2 separate regions of the Homo sapiens genome follow, and region 1 is linked to region 2. The links are contacts of gene promoters, found by promoter capture Hi-C in human tissues and cell types (Jung and others, 2019). All regions are on one chromosome and are shown on one strand. The core of a region is centred on a gene start or on the middle of the fragment in contact, and the rest is flanking DNA. Distances in the headings are between cores, read along the strand shown.

Region 1 (3,200 bases), core at 668-3,167, 440 kb before region 2:
CATGGATTTTTTTCCAATCAAATGTGGACTGAAACTACAGTATTCAGGGGATTCACAACCCATATATATGGAAGGGTGACTGCAGGACTTGAATATGTACAGATTTGGGTATATTTGGGAAGGGTCCTGGAACCAATCCCTCATGTACACTGAGGGATGATTATATACTGTTTAAGGCATGTTACCTGTTGAACAGTGTTTGTTAGGTAGTAAGCTTAGTTGTAACTTGGATTGAAAGGTGAGCTTTTTTAAAAGCATCTGACCTGTTGCTGGCAGGGAAAGTAGTAGAAAATGGATCGAGGGATGGAATAATGGCCTGAGAAAACTAGTAGTTGGAAAAGTTAAAGATTAGTACTGGAATTTAACATAAGCTTAATGCCAACTATTTACTGTGTTTGGTGTGTTACTAAAAGCAAAACTCAGGGGTTCTCTATTCCCTTCTCTGTAGCCTGAATCATTAATACGAAAGACTGGATATACCCTGGAAAGTCTTAAGCCTTGTCTCATGGACCTTCACCAGACCTACCTCAAAGCACCACAGCATGCACAACAGTCAATAAGAGAAAAGTACAAAAATTCAAAGTAAGAATTAACTTGGATATTGAAGCTTACTTTTCTAGATTATGGTTCAGAGATCTTTGACATTTTAACCTTATTCATGAATCTGCCATAGCCTCCTTGAGAAGCTGTTCTCTAAATTGGTTATGTGTTTGAAGAAGGTTGTAGTTCATGCTTTCTGCCCTGGGTCTGGGGGAGAAGAGAGAAGGAAGGGGGCATGCATGTGTGTTTCAGGGACCAGACAGTGTTTCTAAAACCATCAAGTCGGTCAGACAGAAATAGCATTTTTTAGTTCCCAATACATGAGTACAAACATTATTCCATGATCTCCTTTACCCAGTGAGTGTTTACTAAAAATGCTTTTTTTTTCCCTACTTACAGGTATCATGGTGTTTCTCTCCTCAACCCACCAGAGACACTAAATCTGTAACAATGAAAGACTGCCTTTGTTTTCTAAGATGTAAATCACTCAAAGTATATGGTGTACAGTTTTTAACTTAGGTTTTAATTTTACAATCATTTCTGAATACAGAAGTTGTGGCCAAGTACAAATTATGGTATCTATTACTTTTTAAATGGTTTTAATTTGTATATCTTTTGTATATGTATCTGTCTTAGATATTTGGCTAATTTTAAGTGGTTTTGTTAAAGTATTAATGATGCCAGCTGTCAGGATAATAAATTGATTTGGAAAACTTTGCAAGTCAAATTTAACTTCTTCAGGATTTTGCTTAGTAAAGAAGTTTACTTGGTTTACTATATAATGGGAAGTGAAAAGCCTTCCTCTAAAATTAAAGTAGGTTTAGGAAAACAGACCCTCAAATTCTGACATTCATTTTCCTAAGCAACTGGATCAATTTGCTGACTTGGGCATAATCTAATCTAAGCATATCTGAATACAGTATTCAGAGATAGATACAGTAGAGATTCCCCAGACTTTTTCGCTCTTTGTAAAACCTGTTTGTTTAGGTTTTGCGAGGTAAACTCAACAGAGGTTGGGAGTGGAAGAGGGTGGGAAGCTTATATGCAAATTAACAGACGAGAAATGCTCCAGAAGGTTTATTATTTTAAAGCACATTAAAAACAAAAAACTATTTTTAAAATCCTGCTAGATTTTATAATGGATTTGTGAATAAAAAATACCCAGGGTTCTCAGAATGGAATAAATATCCCTTTTAATAGTTATATATACAGATATACAACTGTTAGCTTTAATTGGCAGCTCTCTTCTTTTTTCTTCTTTTCACTGGCTTTTTACTTGGTGCTTTTTCTTGTTTTGCACTGGTGGTCTGTGTTCTGTGAATAAAGCAAAGTAAGAATTTACTAAGAGTATGTTAAGTTTTGGATTATTGAAATAAGAGGCATTTCTTAGTTTTCCAGTAGGATCTAAAATGTGTCAGCTATGAGTAAGACTGGCATCCAAGAAGTTTATATTATAGATTTAGGTCCTAATTTTTATAAATCACAAGGTAAAAAAATCACAGAACAGATGGATCTCTAATGAAAAAGGGATGTCTTTTTGTTTATAGTCATGTGGCAAGATGAGAGTAAAACCAGAGAGCAAACCTCTATAAGTGTTGAGTATATGTATACATTTGAAATAAACCAGAAATTTGTTACCTTATTTTCTTTGGATTCTTGTCTGGTTCCAAAATGATCATTTCTTCTTCTTCACTATCTGAGAGTATTATGGGAGCATCTTTGTTTTTTTATTAATTTAAAAAAAAAAAAAAAAGTTAAGCAATCTCTTGCAAAATTTATTTCTACATGAATTTATTTCTATCAGACGTTCTAAACTCTTATTTCTGGGGCTGGGCGTGGTGGCTCACACTTTTAATACCCACATTTTGGTAGGCTGAGGCAGGTGGATTACCTGAGGTCAGGAACTCGAGTCCAGTCTGGCCAACATGGTGAAACCCCAGCTCTATTAAAAATAATAGAAAAATTAGCCAGGCGTGGTGGCATGTGCTTGTAGGCCCAGCTACTCGAGGCTGAGGCATGAGAATCGCTTGAACCCATGGAGGTGGAGGTTGCAGTGCCACTGCACTCCAGTCTGGGTGACAGAGCAAGACTCCATCCCAAAAAATAAAAATAAAACTCTAGGTGGAGGCTTAATCTTTTCTTTAAATCAGCTTCTTAGAGCACTCTAGAACTCATCTGTAACATTTGTTTCTTTAAACTCTTATTTCCTACAGGTGCTTGAATGGTGTGACAATTTGGTACATGTCATAATAGAAAAGCTAGGGGGAAATGTATATAGCATCTTTTGTAGAGACAACTGAATTGTTTGTGCTACTCTATTCCTCCAGAAATAGTTCCAGTTTACATTCCAAGAAATAAAAGAACCCATTTCCCATATACCTTTGGCATTGCTGGTGTTTTTAATACTGCCCAAAATACAGTAACAAAAAATGCCATGTCATTTTTCTTTGGATTTTATTTGTATTACTGTCAGGGCTGACCATGAAAAATATTACTGGCCATTGTATACTTTGAGAACTGCTCCATGTATTTTGCCCATTTTTCTCCTGCTTATTAGTTAATGATATACATAAAATGTGAATTAACCCATATCAATTATTTGTATTTTTAGTTTTCAATTAGTTTCTCCCTTTGTTCACATGCTTTAGGAAGGCTGTACC
Region 2 (3,313 bases), core at 761-3,260:
AAGTGAATTCATCAACATTGGAGGAATCAAGATCAACATACGAAATAAATTGGATTTCTGCATACTAGTAATGAACACATGGAACCAAAAATTAGAAATTCAGTACAGTACCGTGTACAAATGTCCGCCCAAAATGAAATACTTAGGTGCAAATCTAAAAATATGTACAGGACTTACATGCTGAAAACTGTAAAATGCCTTTGAAATAAATCAAAGATGTAAATTTATGGAAAGACATTCTTCTCATGGATTGAAAAACTCAACCTAGTAAATATGTCAATTTCTATCAAAATCCCAGCAAGGTTTTTTGTAGACATAGACAAGTTGATTGTAAAATGTATATGAATAGGCACAGGTCCTAGAATAGTTACAATAATTTTGAAAAATAAGAATGAAGTATGAGAAATCATGCTACCTGATTTCAAAACTTATTATATAGCTACAGTAGTCAAGAATGTGGAGGATAGACACATAGATCAATTCAACAGAATAGAGAGCCCAAAACATAAAATGTAAAACTATAACACTTTTAGAAAAATACCTAAGAGAAAGTTTTTGAGAAATAGGCTTTGGTGAAGTTAGACTGAACACTAAAAGCTATCTATAAAAGAAAATATTGATAAATATGACTTCACTAAAACTAAAAGCTGTTCTGTGAAAGTCCCTGTTAAGAAGATAAATAACAAGCTACAGACTGGAAGAACATATTTGCAAACCGTTTACTAACAAAGGACTTGTATGTAGAATATAAAAAGAACTTTCAACAGCAAATAAACTAAACCATGCAATTAGAAACGGACAAAACACATGGAAAGACATTTCACCAAAGAAGATTCAAGGACGGCAAATAAGCACATGAGATGTTCAATATTACTTGCCATTAGGTAAATGTAAATTAAGGCCCTAAAGAGATATCACTACAGATCTATTAGAATAGCTTAAAAAAAAAAAGCAGCAAAACCAAATGCTGGCAAGGATGTGGAGAAACGTAACTTCTCATGCATTGATGGTAGAGATGGAGACTTGTACAGCCACTCTGAAAAGTAGTCAATCTCTTTAAAAATTAAATATACACATTACAGATTCAATAATCAAAACTTTTGGCATTTCCTATAGAAAGGAAAACTATGTTCACACAAAAACCTGTACATGATTCTTTATAGCAGCTTTATTTTTAATAGCTCAAAATGGTAATCAACCAAAATGTTCTACAAGAGGTGGATGGTTAAATAAACGGTGATACAGCCTCAGCAATAAAAAGAAACAGCCATTAATACATGCAACAACTTGGATGGATTTAAAGGGCATTAGGCTGAGCGAAGAAAATTCAATATCAAAAGGCAGCATATTGTATGATTTCCCTTACGTAATGTTCTGACAAAAGTTAAGAGAGAACATATTAGTGGTTGCCAGGAGTTAGAGATGGTGGAGGGAGGGGCTAGGTGTGAGTATAAAAAGCACCAGGGAGATTTTTGTGGTGATAGAAGAGTTTGTATCCTGACGGTTACGGGAATCTACACTTGAGATAAAAACATGCAAACACTGTACCTGTGTCAAATTCCTGGTTTTGTATTGTTCCGTAGTTAAATAAGATGTAATGAATGAAAGAAACTGGGTGAAGGGTGGGTACGCAGGATCTTTCTGTATTATCTTTGCCATTTCCCAAGTTCTATATTTTAACTATCTTAATTATTTTTCAATACAGAAAATAATTTAAAATAAGCCCTATTTGCCTTGGGTAGTTGTGGCTCCCATTATTACGCAAGAGGAGAAACTTGAAACTGTGGAACCCCCCAATACCCAGTTTCACATACAAGCATTACCTGACTGGGGCCATGCCCTGAGAAAGGCGCTGGGCGGCAGCAAGTTGGTGAGCCAGGGAAGTCTTCCCTCGCCCTGAGGGTGCGGGGAAGCGGCGTTGGCGCCACTGAAGCTGGGTGTGAGGGAGGCGTCACCGAGTTCAGCCCCACCCTCCACCGCTCCCCAAGCGGGTCCGGCGTCCGCATCGCATGGCCAGAAGGCGGGGAGCCAGAGGCGCCAGGACCCTCGCGTGGCGCTCCAGCACCCCAGACCGTGGCGGCGCCTCGCCTTAGGGAAGAGCAAGGGAAGAACTTTATTTGAACCGCGAACATTTTTTGGTCACTGAGATCGAGTCTCCCAGTGCTTTGGCTTCCCGCCTCTTTATCGTGGGTTTGATCCCTGAGCTGCTCTCCTTTCCCGAACCTCCCGGGGTGCAGCCTAGAGCCCTCCCGCGCGGCTGACTCCAGAGTAGAGGAAGGGAGGCGGCCTCCGGCTGGTCCCCCGAAGCCCTCGCTGCCCCGCAGATGCGGATGGCCAGCCAGTAGCGGGCGGTGGCCCCGCGTCCCGGGAGCGCACAGCAATGCAGGCGCTTAACATTACCCCGGAGCAGTTCTCTCGGCTGCTGCGGGACCACAACCTGACGCGGGAGCAGTTCATCGCTCTGTACCGGCTGCGACCGCTCGTCTACACCCCAGAGCTGCCGGGACGCGCCAAGCTGGCCCTCGTGCTCACCGGCGTGCTCATCTTCGCCCTGGCGCTCTTTGGCAATGCTCTGGTGTTCTACGTGGTGACCCGCAGCAAGGCCATGCGCACCGTCACCAACATCTTTATCTGCTCCTTGGCGCTCAGTGACCTGCTCATCACCTTCTTCTGCATTCCCGTCACCATGCTCCAGAACATTTCCGACAACTGGCTGGGGGGTAAGAGTCGCGCCCCGCTCCTTCGCTCCTTCTCTCTTAACCCTCTGCCTTTCAGGGGATCTCTCTCTCTCTCTCTCTCTCTCTCTCTCTCTCTCTCTCTCTCTCTCTCTCTCTCTCTCTCCTCTCTCGTCTGTCTGTCTCTCTCTCGTCTGTCTCTTCCTTACACTTCTCTGTCAAATGAATCCGGTGCTCTTTCTTAGAACTTCGCCACCTGTGTTCACCTGGACATAAGTTCTTTTGGCCGCCTCTGATTCCCCTCCAGTGCTTCCTCCTTGTGGCTTAGAGACATAGGTTGGGGAAAAGCTTCGGAAAGGTCCCGAGCAGTGAGGCAGGAAGTCGCACCCCTCGCCACTTATTTCAGCTCCCTTTCCCGTCATTACCAGGTTTTTCTCCCCTAGTTTTCTTACTAAAAGTGAGATAAAAATATTTCAAATAATTAAACCAAAGTTAAAAATCTCATTTCCTCATTCCCCCACCCTCCAGCCTCACTTCCCAGTTGCTTGCAGACAGCTTCTTGTACCTATGAGCATAAAACAAATATAATTCATGTGCAGAAAAAATATATTGAACTAGTCCTTTTAAAAACTGTATTA

Evidence for each region. The method cuts DNA at HindIII sites, captures the fragments that hold promoters and counts their contacts. A contact is called where the count stands out against the background at its distance.
Region 1: a contact is called between a fragment that was not itself captured here and the fragment with the promoter of QRFPR in region 2, in 1 of the 25 tissues and cell types used here (H1 embryonic stem cells).

The regions. Positions count from the first base shown.
Region 1 is chr4:121,815,426-121,818,625 of GRCh38, reverse strand. EXOSC9 (exosome component 9) reads right to left here. Exons shown (of 12, transcript NM_005033.3): 11 at 2,179-2,257; 12 at 1,605-1,854. The coding sequence ends at 1,770. It overlaps CCNA2 (cyclin A2), which reads left to right. Exons shown (of 8, transcript NM_001237.5): 7 at 449-582; 8 at 940-2,182. The coding sequence ends at 988. Among named protein-coding and RNA genes, the nearest start is that of CCNA2, 6.9 kb to the left of the region's middle. The HindIII fragment of the contact is 4,620 bases long and covers 1-3,200 here.
Region 2 is chr4:121,379,715-121,383,027 of GRCh38, reverse strand. QRFPR (pyroglutamylated RFamide peptide receptor) reads left to right here and starts at 2,010. Exons shown (of 6, transcript NM_198179.3): 1 at 2,010-2,720. The coding sequence starts at 2,381. RefSeq lists an enhancer at 1,440-2,224. The HindIII fragment of the contact is 9,664 bases long and covers 1-3,313 here.